4 separate regions of the Homo sapiens genome follow, and regions 2, 3 and 4 are each linked to region 1. Evidence: promoter capture Hi-C in 16 types of primary human blood cells and fetal thymus (Javierre and others, 2016). All regions are on one chromosome and are shown on one strand. The core of a region is centred on a gene start or on the middle of the fragment in contact, and the rest is flanking DNA. Distances in the headings are between cores, read along the strand shown. Region 1 holds the start of CD47 (CD47 molecule). Region 2 overlaps CD96 (CD96 molecule). Region 3 overlaps GTPBP8 (GTP binding protein 8). Region 4 overlaps BTLA (B and T lymphocyte associated).

The links. The method cuts DNA at HindIII sites, captures the fragments that hold promoters and counts their contacts. A CHiCAGO score of 5 or more calls a contact.
Region 2: a contact is called between a fragment that was not itself captured here and the fragment with the promoter of CD47 in region 1, in 4 of 17 cell types (fetal thymus, naive CD4 T cells, non-activated CD4 T cells and 1 more). The highest score is 9.8, in fetal thymus.
Region 3: a contact is called between a fragment that was not itself captured here and the fragment with the promoter of CD47 in region 1, in 1 of 17 cell types (activated CD4 T cells). The highest score is 8.3, in activated CD4 T cells.
Region 4: a fragment that was not itself captured here is called in contact with the fragment with the promoter of CD47 in region 1 in 2 of 17 cell types (total B cells and activated CD4 T cells); the score reaches 7.9 in total B cells.

The regions. Positions count from the first base shown.
Region 1 is chr3:108,089,747-108,093,185 of GRCh38, reverse strand. It overlaps CD47 (CD47 molecule), which reads left to right and starts at 2,155. Exons shown (of 11, transcript NM_001777.4): 1 at 2,155-2,323. The coding sequence starts at 2,278. RefSeq lists silencers at 1,542-1,601, 1,612-1,661, 1,682-2,431. The HindIII fragment of the contact is 8,318 bases long and covers 1-2,960 here.
Region 2 is chr3:111,546,353-111,549,628 of GRCh38, reverse strand. The region is part of intron 2 of CD96 (CD96 molecule); the gene reads right to left. Among named protein-coding and RNA genes, the nearest start is that of CD96, 5.8 kb to the right of the region's middle. The HindIII fragment of the contact is 1,137 bases long and covers 841-1,977 here.
Region 3 is chr3:112,999,647-113,002,949 of GRCh38, reverse strand. It overlaps GTPBP8 (GTP binding protein 8), which reads right to left. Exons shown (of 6, transcript NM_014170.4): 6 at 981-2,100. The coding sequence ends at 2,031. It overlaps RMP64 (ribonuclease MRP subunit p64), which reads left to right. Exons shown (of 9, transcript NM_015412.4): 9 at 1-506. Among named protein-coding and RNA genes, the nearest start is that of GTPBP8, 10 kb to the right of the region's middle. The HindIII fragment of the contact is 950 bases long and covers 1,041-1,990 here.
Region 4 is chr3:112,475,405-112,478,806 of GRCh38, reverse strand. All of the region lies in intron 2 of BTLA (B and T lymphocyte associated), which reads left to right. Among named protein-coding and RNA genes, the nearest start is that of BTLA, 22 kb to the left of the region's middle. The HindIII fragment of the contact is 4,154 bases long and covers 1-3,402 here.

The DNA of each region.
Region 1 (3,439 bases), core at 906-3,405:
CTCTCTACCCAAGAAACTCCTTACATACAGATAAGATGAGCTCAACATCCAAATTAAAATGCTTTGAAAAGTTAAAAGGCAAACCTTTAAAATGATTAAATACTGAAAAGAGCTTAAGGTTATCTCAGAGAGAGGATAATCAAACCTAGGCAGGCTGCTTTGGACTGTCTCTCCTGGGATATGCCTGCTTTTGCCCCACCACCAAAACATACCCCAGCTAGATTCCCAAGAGCAGCAGTGGTCACCCAGGTGGCCTCTCATTCCATTTTCTGCACAAAAAGACGTTAAGCATATAGCTCAGTAGCTCCCAGTGTAAAACAGAACATCACCCGATCTCCACCTCTGAAGGTTGGGGACAGTCCTTTCTAGTCACTCTTCAGCTTTAGGGGGGTTGGTTGGTATCAGGGACAGCTGACAGCCTTATTTAGCCAACCAGCTGCTCTGTGATACACAATGTCCCTAATGCTCAAAGTCTGGTGGATGATTCTTTTGTATCCACATAAGCAGCAGTTGGAGGAGAATCGATGAGTCCCTTTGGTTGCCTCGGGGTGTCAAGGCTGCCATTCAAATCATTACCACCATAATTATTAACCATTGTTTTAGTGAGATGTCTGCCAGGCAATTGTTTTTATTTTTCAATCATTAAAAAAGCAATCAAATTTCACTAGAGCAATGCCTGCCTCACGCCGCATCAACACATTTATTAAACCCCTTCTGTTTGCCGAGCTCAATGGAAAGTCTTGGAGGAGGGAATACTTAAAATGCTCTCGGATTTAAAAGAATTGATAATGCTGTGGGGAAGAGGTTCACACAAAAAAGCAATTACAGGAAGAAGCTCGATAGTATACAATACACTGGTACAGAGTGTCATAGACAGTGCCACTTTCATACGCTGGATTTTATTTCTGTGGCAATGGGATGCTTGGGAGGAGCCGCACTGTGTAGAGGATTTGGAGAAGTGGGGTATTGTGGTGGGAAATTGCTTTCTTTCCCAGGAGGTAGGAGGAAAACAATCAAGGAGGTGGACAGGATGTGCACTCCATTAGAGCAGCCACCAGAGCCTGACTTTTTGATAAGAGAGTACATCAGTTAGGATAACGGTTAAAAGTATCTTTAAAAGACTTTTGCTTCAGGATGAATGATGTGGCCTGTGTGATTCAGCGATAAATTCAAAAGCCTTGTCCCTATTGTGGCTTGCGGCCACATTTCGAACCCATTTTTCAAGCATGTTAAACCCAAGCGCAGCGCAGAGGGCTGCACATGGGGCAGTCACAAACCAAGCTCAATAACCTTGCTGGTGGGGATGTGTTGGATACGCTGCTAATGCCTGTTTGCGACAATGCTCGCTAGTCCCGGTGGTGGCGGTGTTCACAGGTAACAATGTTTACCACCGTGAATGGAACTTGTTTGATTAACCCTGATCAGAGGATGAAAACACTAAAGAACCAAGTGAGAAAGAGGGAAGAGAACCGCATAGGGAAGAGCAGAGCGAGTAGACGAGCCGAACGCAGAGCCCGCGAGGGGCGAGTGGAAGCTCCCTGCGGGCAGGTACCCGACCACCGCCCTGCCCTGGGCGTGGCGGCCTCGGGCTCAGGGACCGCTTCGGCGCTAGACGGCCGCGTCCGGAGGAAACGGGCGCTGGTGAAAGCCTAGGTGTCCTGGTCCACGCGCGCAGCCGGACGTCGGGTCCAGGGAGAGACGCGGGCTGGGGCGGGACGGGACCCGGCCCCTGAAGCGCGAGGGTGGGAGTGAAAGCAAAGAGGAGAAAAGTAGAGAGAGAGGACAGTGGGGCCCAGCGCCGCGCGAAAGGCAGGAACCGACCCGCGGACAGGAACGGGTGCAATGAGGTCCCCGGCGAGCGTGGGAACACAGGGTTCAGCCTCCTGCGGCGGGCGAGCACGCGGACCCCAGGGGCGGGCGGGTGCGACAGGACGTGACCTGGAAGCGCGGCGCGTGCCACCGCCCTGGAGCAGGCATCCGGCCTCCGTGGAGCGGGCAGGCGGGCCCCGGGTCTGGAGCCTGCGACTGGGGAGGGCGCCGCGTCAACAGCAGCGGTTGCGGGGCGGGGCCGAGTGCGCGTGCGCGGCTCTCGCGGGCGGGGAGCAGGCGGGGGAGCGGGCGGGAAGCAGTGGGAGCGCGCGTGCGCGCGGCCGTGCAGCCTGGGCAGTGGGTCCTGCCTGTGACGCGCGGCGGCGGTCGGTCCTGCCTGTAACGGCGGCGGCGGCTGCTGCTCCGGACACCTGCGGCGGCGGCGGCGACCCCGCGGCGGGCGCGGAGATGTGGCCCCTGGTAGCGGCGCTGTTGCTGGGCTCGGCGTGCTGCGGTGAGTGGCTCCTCGCTCCCAGCCCTGCGGCTGCTGTCGCTTCGCCCCCGCGGGCGTGTGGGCTGCGCCCCAGCCAGCCCGGCGGCGCCCTGAAGAGGGTGGCCGGGGCGCAGAACACTCGGGCCCTGAGCGCCCGAAGTGCAGACGTGGGAGGGCCCCACGGGGAATCGGGCGCCCCCCTTCTTCCTCCCTTCCTTTCCCTGGTCGTCTTCTTCCCCCTGGGTGAGAGCGGGGCTCATCTCCTCCACCCGGTTCTCCATCTCCAAATGCACACACACAGGAAGACTCCAAACCGCGCACCTCGCGCAAAAATTAACTAGCAAGAAAGGGCGCGATCAGAGGCAAGGGGCTGCAGCTGCTAGGGATCCCCTTCTTTCGCACCCCTCTCCCTTCTCAGTGCTTAGACGCATTTGGGGTTGAGGGAGGGAGAGTGGGAGGGCCCGGGCCTCTTGCGATGGAAGTGCGCATTTTGGCGAAGTCGGTGAGAAGGGGTTTCTGCCGTTTGCCTCCCACATGAACATAGGAGCGAAGAGGACGTAAAGGACACAATTAAGTTTCATTTTCAACTCAGCATTCAATCAGAAGAATCTTCCGGCCGTGTAATTTTTGCTGTCGTTTTTAATCCTAAAAATAAGCTTGCTGGAAACTCTTCCTTTCTCGTGACCCTCACGCCCCATCAGCCACTTGCATACATTCTAAATTGTACGTTGAAGTTTTTCCCACTTTATTTGGGGGAACCGTTTTAAAAGTAATCTGGTTTTCGCCTGAAATAGGAAGACAGTAACCTCCAGTCAAAACATGTGCAGCAGAATGGGATTTGGTGTTTTTCGACGCCAAAGAACCTCCACCCCCCCACCCCCACCCCGAGCTTTTGGAATCCATTTCGCTTTTGTAAAACGTGTGCTTCGTCTGTAAAAACTGAGCAAGGAATAGAAACATTCGTAGCTCTACAGTGAGTGCCTGTCACACTTCACATCCATAGAGCCTTTTGTGAACTTTTATAAGATTCAGAATTCAGCTTGAGCACCAGTGACAGCAATTGTTACATTTATTCTAGAATGCTAAATTAATTCGATTTTAAACTGATTATTAGCCTCGGTGTGCCGTTCCTAAAGG
Region 2 (3,276 bases), core at 160-2,659, 3.5 Mb before region 1:
CATTCTTCTATTTCTAGTTCATTGCCACTGTACTTAATGGTACCAGCATCTCTCATGTAGCTTTCTGCTGTTGTCTTCTAACTGATCCACACTATCGTCTCTGCCTTCTCCAATTCATTCTCTACACTTGAACCACAAAGATGCATTTTTGAAATGCAAAACAAAAAAAATCAAACAAAACAACCACCTTTTAATTAGTTCCCACAGCTCTTAGGATAAAGACAAAACTCCTTAAATGGACTAATCAATCTTTCTAACCTTATCGTCAACTGCCTCACCTGTAATCCCTCTGCTCCAGCCATAATACCTTTTAAAATCTCCCCTGCCTACCCAGTTGTTATAACTTCCTTCCCCCATAGAACCTTTGCATGTCCTGTTCTTTGTAAAGCTCTGTGTTCACTTGGTTAACTCCAGTTGAAGCAGCGCTTCCAAAGGAAAGGAAAGGAGAGGGGAGGGGAGGGGAAGAGAGGGGAGGGGAGAAGAGAGGGAAATGAAAATAAGGGGGAAGGGAAAGGAAAGGACAAAGTAAAGAAAGTCTTTTCTGATTTTCCTATTATACCCTCTCATACACTACTTCCTCACTTCTGAAGCACTTCTCACTGTTGCAATTTGATATTTGTTTGCTTATTTGATGAATGTCAACTTCTTCCTATTGAACTTTGTGATTCATGAAGACACAGTCATGCATATATGCCTACTCTGTGCCTAGTGCCCAGTGTCTAGCACTGTAAGCACTCAAAAACACTTGTTGGATAAAGACTAAATACAGGAATTTAAGAAGAGCCAGCATTCAGGCTCAATACAAACTAGACAGGATAACAACATGTTTTAGACCAAGCTTATCAACATTGTAGTATCAAAATTTTATTGCTACTATTACTACTACTTCCAGGACCATGACTTCTCCAACCGCATTCACTGCTACTACTGCTTCCAATAACATTAACAGCCCACCAAGGCATTTACTGTGAACTAGTAAATTAAAGCCATGTTATACTCTTATAACTGATCTTAATAACTACAAATTTTAAAATGCACCAAAATCTTACAATCTGAAGCATTATGGGATCCAGTAGCATTCAAATGAATGAAATCTAGATTATGACAATCCAAGGCTTAACTCAGAGAACTGCATTTCTTGGAGTGACTGAAAATCTCCTAACCTAGGAGGAAACTCTGTCAAGTGAAAGCGAAAAAGAGGCAAACCTCACACTGTTTATTATATTTCCACTCTTGTCCACAATCTCAGAGCACTAAGACACACACAGAGACAAAATATTGTGAAAAGAGAACAGAATCCTTTCACAGCTAGGCCCTTGGGGAACATGGGAACAGGATTTAGACACACACTGTGTTGTGAGCAGACAAGAGAGAATGACTCAAACAGCAACAGAAAAGAAACAGGAAGAGATGATCAACTCAAACACTTCAAGTCCCTCAGCATTTTCAAATTAGGTTCTTATGCACCACTTCAATTTGCATTTGTTTATGTACTATATAAGTGTTTGCACTTCAGGTGTGTTTTGCTTACCCAACTAGCTTGTAAACTTAAAGATTGCACAGGGGCATAAGAAGAAAACTGTACAAGTGAGAGGAGAAGAAGCAAGAGAAGATCAAAACAGTAAAGGGTAGAAAGAAAATATGCTATTGGTTGTGAACTTGACAGAGCTCTCAGATGGCAACTGCCTCCCTTTAGTCAGCTGCCTACTCTGTAGCTCCGTACCAGGCTTACATTTGTGGTCACTCTGTGGTGAAGGATGTTTCCCCCTTCTGTTTTGCTCTTTTCTATTTTACTCCCTTTGTACCCAAAATCACAATACCAGAACCATTTCTCTAACACTGAGGCCATTGCTTTTCATCTGATCCAGATGACAGCAGCAAAGTTACATTCAGAAGACCGGAAATTTTCCAACCGCAAAAAGTATAGATACGGTTTCTGCCTCTCCAGTGACCTGCAGTTTTTAGTAGCTACAAGCTTAACTCCCTTGGTTCTCTTTATTTTAAGAAATACATTTCTTTAAAGGCAACATCATCCTCCTTTCTGGATAATATACTATCTGTTCTCCATTGCTGTCTTCATTTTGTGGCATCACTTATTCTATTTCCTATAAGGTACATCAGTCCATGTTGCCAAGTCTCAATGAAGGAAACACTGAGTCCTCCGTGAGGCAATAGTATTGTTTACTGGTTCAGGCAGAATGTACAAAAAAAACTATGTATGAAACCAAGGTCAATGTGTACTTGTACTAACATTACATGGCAAATGTCTTACTGGGTTCCAAATGAGGTCAATATATAAAAAGAAGGAGCAGGGCTCATATTTAATTGGAACTGAGAAATAGAATTTGCTCAATATAATTATTACTATTCTTAATTGAAAACTACCATTTACCAAACTCTTATCCTTTAGCAGGAACTATATGTTTAAGTGCATTACACAGATTATCTCATTTAATCACCAAGCTAGTGATACCTGTAAAGAAAGCACTATAATTATCCATATTTGTTATGTAAGAAACTTGAAACAACTTGGGAATGATGAAACGTATGGTAAATGATAGAGCCAATATCCAAATACAGGCTACCTGAATCAAACTATGTATAGCTAAACAGTTTTCTATATAGGTCTTCCATTTCTCTTTACTTCAATCCCACTCCACTCCATCCTTAATTGAACTGAAGTGTGTGTGTGTGTGTGTGTGTGTGTGTATGTGTCTGTGTGTGTGTGTGTGTGGTGTGTTTTCCTCCTGGAAAACAGCAAGGGAATTGGGCATTATAAGATAGTAGTTGATGGGACCTTGGCCTATAGGTGGACTGTTCCAACAGCATATTTTTAAAGCAAGTAAGTTATAAGACATGGAGAGGAGGCTATAAATCCATACCTGTTGCTTGTTCTGGACAGCTCTATGCCCCCTTTAATATGACCTTCACGAGTTATTTTTTTTTCTTATATTACCAGGCCACTTTGCCCTGAGTTAGAACCAGTCCACTGCCAGTGCATTTTGCATCTGTTGGCTTTCACTTTCATTGTTTTCCATTAGCAGAAATGAAAATCATTTACTTTAGGACCAGGTAATTTAGGGCAGGCATTATTATAATCATTTTCCAAATGGGCTCAGAGAATTTACACCACAGGCCCCAAGTCAAATTTTATTTCTATTCAGAAAGGAGCTAGAACTTAAATCTAGGATTCCCACTTCTAAATGCAGGCCTCCAAAGTATGTTTGGTGTGAATGCTTCATAGTTAGCAGCTTCCTTTGTCCCTTTACCTGCCCT
Region 3 (3,303 bases), core at 266-2,765, 4.9 Mb before region 1:
ACCAGTTTCAAGCAGGGCTGAACCTTGCCTCTTGCTCTGGGGATGTCTCACTTCCTGCCCCTGGGCTTCTCACCAGCTACAGGAACTGCCTAGCACTTGGGTATGTACAACCTGGAAGAGGTGTGGGGCCACCCCATCCCCTCCTCAAAGAAATTCACAGGCACAGTATGAGGCTAAAGTAACTTCCATCTTGGATGCTAATCTACCATGTTGACTTCTGATAACCAGTTCCTGGAATGCCCTCTAAGATTTCTACTTTTATCTATTAAAAGAACACACACACACACACACACTGTAAATCCTGGCCTTAAGCAAGTTATAGGCTAAGTTGTAAACAGCATTCTTGCCTTTCCCTGAGGAGGTGACTTCAGTGTCTCACATGTTCCTTCATGTACCCCCTTTTCTCTATGGCATATAAGCCCTGGGTCGGGGGGTAACTGTGGGGATCACTGCCTGAGACATGGCTTCTGTGCATAAGTCCCTATTAAATGTTTCTTTCTGACAAACTGGATTTGTTGGCCTCTTTCTTTGGCATCTCAGCACTCTCAGCCTTTGGGGGTAGGTTGCATAGACCTGGTCACTATACAACACATATTTCCTAGGACTTGTCACAAGTTCCCTCAAGATCTAGCACTAGTGCCTATGTTTTGGCTAACTCAATGAATATGTTGTTAATAGGCTTGTCTGTCTTGTTTCATTTTGCCACTGTTCCCTGGGATCACTTCCCAAATTTACATATGTAAGCTTTTGGCTCAGGCTCTGCTTATAGGAGAACCAAGGATAAATCAAAGCAGTGAAGTAACACTGGCAGACAAAAAGATGACTTCTAAGATAATTCTTTTGTTACTATATATTTTATGAATGTCTATATTAAAAAATCTTTTTTTTGGCTGAAAACATTCCTGCTTAGATTAGACCAATTCTGTCAACTATAAAACTGACAATATATTCAGATTGTTTTCTAAAGAAAAGCCACGAAGTTGGTTTATAGCTTTAATTTGTTATCCAGCAATACAGCTATAACCTTTTAATATTAAGCTTCACTTTGAAAACCTAAGCCACTTACATGAATAGGTTAGTGGCACCTTCACAAAAATCTTCTCTATTAACTTTAGTTCAAAGGCTTTATTTTTCCATTCTGAATCTTAAATGTAGCAGTCTAAACTGTCCCATCAGCTTTTTTCTCTTGCCCTTTACAAATTAGTTTTCTCACTTAAAGCTATTTTTGTTTTTTGCTTTTTCACTAGTGAAAATGTTACTTCCCCCATGAAAGGACATTTCTTGTAATAAATCTACCTGTGAATTTTGCTATATTTCTTTGTTGGTTTGGCTTTACAAATATGTAGCTGTCTTCTCACATGTTACCTGCTGTAAAACCATTCATTTGAATCTTAATAGCTTTCACGTTTACAGTAACAAATGAATTTCCGAGAAATCAAGTAAGTTGCCCAAGATCCAACATATATAATAAACATCAGAACTAGAACTTGAATTCTGTTCTTTCGGTTGTTTCCAACATGGACTAACACATTTTATCAAGAATGTTTTCAATATTCAAATAAGGACTCAAAAAAATAGGCTTACATAGTAACTTTTATCCATCAACTTACCTATCGATGCTTAACAGAAAAGCAGCCCCCTTTTACCTAGCCCATTTTAACATTTAAAAAAAAAATACCCATAGTAGACATATTCTTTAAAAGACAAAAGCCCAATAAAACGTCAAACCCTTCTGTACATAGTTGTAACAGGTTTTCATTTTATGGATGTGCTCTTGTCAGTTTGTTAAAATAGGGGAATCAGCTAGTAGCTGTTCTAATGAACACCATAATTCAATAACTTACAAACTTTTTTCACCTCAGGCACAAATTCTTGTTTCGAGAAGGCACAGGTTTTAAAGCTCAAGTGATCCTCCTGAAGTTACAGATGCACAACATTTAAAACAATGTTGAAATTCTTCTAGGTATTTAACTCCAGTTAGCATAAAGCTTTTTTTTTTTTTTTTGAATCTTCAGCTAAACCGGGAACCATTAGTCAAGACTTCCTGTTACACTGGCTATAAAGCATCTCAACAGGTGGATTCCAGAAAAGGTCACAGCACTGTGAAAAGAAAAGAGAAATAATTTTCTTCCTTTCCTCAGATATAACATCTGAATTCATCAACTTAAAAAAATTTACAAATTCTTATGATTTCATATATGAAAGCAGAACATCTTTTAATGTGTTCTAGCTTTCTTCTCTTCCCCCAGCCGCGTCTTGTAGTATTCTAAAATCTGATGATCAATATTATCTGATCCATTTCCTTCATGATTCCAAAAATTTCACTATATCTTCTATTTTGCTTTGTTTTCCAGAATAAGTCTTGATCTCTTTAGTTTGTTCTTTTTGTAATAAATATTCAATTACCTTGTTAGACTTTTTAGGTTTTAAAAAAATTACCATCACCATTATTGTACATATTATTTATCTATCTGTCTTCCTATATCCATCTGTGCGTCCGTCTGTCCGTCCGTATGGAGATCAGCCAAAATGTTTCTCAGGTATGGATATACTACAGTTTTTTTTGGTGGTGGTGGTGGTTTTTGAGACAGAGTCTCACTCTGTCGCCCAGGCTGGAGTGCAATGGCGTGATCTTGGCTCACTGCAACCTCTGCCTCCCGAGCAGCTGGGATTACAGGCATGTGCCACCACATCTGGCTAATTTTTTTTTTTATTTTAATTTTTCTAGAGATGGGGTTTCACCATGTTGACCAGGCTGGTTTTGGACTCCCGACCTCAGGTGATCTGCCCACCTCGGCCTCCCAAAAATGCTAGGATCACAGGCATGAGCCATGGCACCTGGCCTTCAAATGTCTCTAGTTTTAAGTGACACTTTAAGAAACACTGATAATATTACAGGTTTTCAGTACATAACGTTATAAAAACAATTCAACTAACAAGTGGATAAAGAAAATGTGGTATTTATGTACCATGTAATACTACTCAGCCATAAAATGGAACAAAATAATGGCATGTGAAGCAACCTGGATGGAGGTGGAGACCATTATTCTAAGTGAAGTAACTCAGGAATAAAAAGCCAAATACTGTATGTTCTCACTTAGAAGTGGGAGCTAAGCTATGAGGACACAAATGCATAAGAATGATATAATGGACTTTGGGGATTCATGGGGAAAGGTGGGAGGGGTGAGCGAAAAAAGACTACACATAGGGTACAGTGTACACTGCTCAGGTGATGGGTGCACTAAAATCTCATAAATAACCACTAAAGAACTTTTCCATGCAACCAAAAACCTGTTCCCCAAA
Region 4 (3,402 bases), core at 794-3,293, 4.4 Mb before region 1:
ACATAGGGGGGGAGTAGGTAAGAGTAAAAAATACTTGGTTTATAAAAATTTTATAGCCAACATCATATTCAATGGTGAAAGGCTTAGAGCTTTCCCCCTAAGAACAGGAACAAGACATGGATCCTTGCTTTTGCCATTTCCATTTAACATTAAACTGAAAATTCTAGCCAGAGCAAACAGGCAAGAACAAGAAATAAAAGATATCTAACTTAGAAAAAAAGAAGTAAAACTTTATTCACAGATGGCATGAACTTATGTGTAGAAAAATTCTTAAAAATTTGTTTAAAACTATTAAAGCTAATACATGAATTTAGCAATTCCACATGATACAGGATCAACACACAAAAATCAGTGATATTTCTATACACTAGCAATAAACAATCCACAAAGAAAATTAAGGAAACAGTTCCATTTACAATAGCATCAAAATGAATAAAATATTTAAGTACAAATTTAACCAAAGAGGTATAAGAGTTGTACACTGAACAAAGAAAGCATGGCTGAAAGAAATTCAAGAATATGTAAATAAATGCAAAGACATTCTGTATTCATGGACTGAAAGATGTAATATTGTAAAGATAGCAATATTCCCCAAGGTGATCTACAGATTCAATGCAGTTCCACTAAAATCCTAACAGCTTTTTGTTGCTATTGCAGAAATAAAAAAGCTGATCCTAAAATTCACATTGAGTTGCAACAGACCCAGAATTGCCAAAACAATCTTGAAAAAGAACAAAACTGAAGCTAAGACTTCCCTATTTCAAAACTTACTACAAAATGACAGTTAAAAAAAAAAAAAAAGAATAGTATTGTCATGGATAGACAAAGAGATCAATGTAAATAGAATTGAGAGTCCAGAATAAACTCCATACATCCGTAGTCAATTGATTTTTGATAAGGGTACCAAGATTATTCAGTGGGGAAAGAATAGTCTCAATAAATGGTGCCAGGATAATTGGATATTCATATGTAAAAGAATTAATTTGAACCCTCATCTCACTCCATATTTTAAGCAATCAAAATAAGTCAGACATTTAAGTAGAAGAGCTAAAACTATAAAAACTGCATTATATAAAACAATAAAACTCTGATTTCTTAGGAGAAAACATAGGGATAAATGTTTCTGATCTTGGATTTAGCAGTGTTTTCTTAGCTATGATTACAAAAGCATAATCAACAATAACACCAAAAATAGATAAATTGGACTTCATAAAAATTAAACACTTCTGTGCATCAAAAGATACTAAAATTCAACAACAAATAGACTGGCAACCTAATTTTAAAATGAGCAAAGGACTTGAATAGACATTTCATCAAAGAAAATATACAAATGGCCAATAAACATATGAAAAAAATGCTCAATGTCATTAGTTACTGGAGAAATGCAAATCAAAGTCACAGTGAAAACCCACTTCACACCCATCGAATGACTAGAATAAAAAAAAAAAACACAGAAAATAATAAGTGTTAGCAAGGATGTGAAGAAATAGAAACCCTATCCATTGCTGAGGAGAATGTAAAATGGTGCAGTCACTTTAGAAAGTGGTCTAACAGTTCCTCAAAATCAAAAGATAAAACCTACTTGTCACAGTACCCAGTAATTCTATTCCTAGGTAAATACTCAAATGAAATTAAAATATATGTTCACACAAAACCTTGTTCCTGAATGTTTATCACAGCACTATTCACAATAGCCAAAAGGTAGAAACAACCTAAATGTTCAGCTGATGAATGGATAAAGGAAATGTAGTTTATCCACACACGGAATATTATTCAGTCATGAAAAGGAATGAAGTACTAATGTATGCTACAACATTGATGAACCTCAGAAGCATTACGCTAAGTAAAAGAAGAAAAAGGTTACATACAATGTGATTCTGATTATATGAAATATCCAAAATAGGCAAATCCATAGAGACAGAAAGTAGCTTGGTGGTTGCCAGGGGCTGAGGAAATAAAGAATGTGACATGACTACTAAATAGGTAGAGGGCTTCCTTTTGGGGTGATAAATATGTTCTGAATCTAGATCGTAGTCACGTTTGCAAAACATTGTGAGTATCTTACATGCCATTTAATTGTACATTTTAAATGATTAAATTGGTAACTTTTATGTTATATGTATTTTACCACAATAAAAATATATTTGGATCAAAGAAGAGTGCCCTTTAATTATAAGAAATAATGTGGAGTTTCTTTTGTTGCTCATAAATTGACCCTTAAAGTTACTGGGAAGGAGAAATTTCAAAAGAGGGTTATTGCAATAGCAGCATGGCTGAACTCTGGATGCAACCTCGTACAGTTTAGTTCCTTTATGGACATCATTCACTTGAATGCATACATTTTACAACTGATCTTTTTAAAATTAATTTGTTACTTTATATGCTTACTTTTGAGTGTCTTTCAACTCCCTTAAAGTAGCCCAGTGAAGGAATCCATTGAAATTCTTTTAAAATGCTTTAGGTTAGTTTAAAATTTCTTACAGCAGCACCATGAAAAAATGCATAGCAGTTTAGCAGTAGCTACAACCCTCAATTATGAAATATAGAAGAAATCGATGGCAGAGTTAGGGACTCTGCTTTTGCAAATATAGCGTGAAGCTCGGTGCTAGTTACTTGTGACCATCCATGCACTGGCTTATAAACCTCTTCAGGATGGAAGCTGTGTCTTAAACATCTTTGCTCTGTATGATGGATGGCAGGGTACCTGGCACATGGTAGGGGCTCACTAAATATTTCTTTGTAAATGAATTAAAGAACATAGTATATGCAAAGCACAAAAATTGTCTTCATCAACCTGGAGAAGGCTATATTAAGGATGTATGGAATGAACACTTTCTGGAAAGAATTGCATTATTAATTCACATTAATGAGACAAAATATTGAATTTTTAACAAATACTATTTTTTAAACAGGTAAAATAAATTACAAAAATAAGGAAAATCTGCAAAATATTAATTCTAGAATGATATATACTATTGAATAAATAAGTGCTATTAACTAATTTATATAATATATTAACATAATGTATAATAAAATTAAATTTTGAGGCATTGAGTCCACCTTCCTTGGAAGAGAAGCCTTGTGTAATTCAGTCTTTCTTTATGGGAACTAATCTACTTCTATACGAGACATGAATTTAGCCAAGGTCAGATGAAAGGTCAGAAGTTAATAATTAATTGTGATACAAAAGTCTGTTACACAAAAGTAGCATTGCAATTTCTGCTCTATCCCATATTTGGGTCATTCATGATGACTAAAGATAATCTGTAGTTTGTAAAGTGCATAAAGGTGCCTGTTCTAGGGATCAAGTTGGGGCTGAGATTAGGATCAACAATCTATCTATTTTGTGGAGGAAAGAACCCAACTTTAGGGGAAAGGGAATAACATTCCCTCCTAAATCCT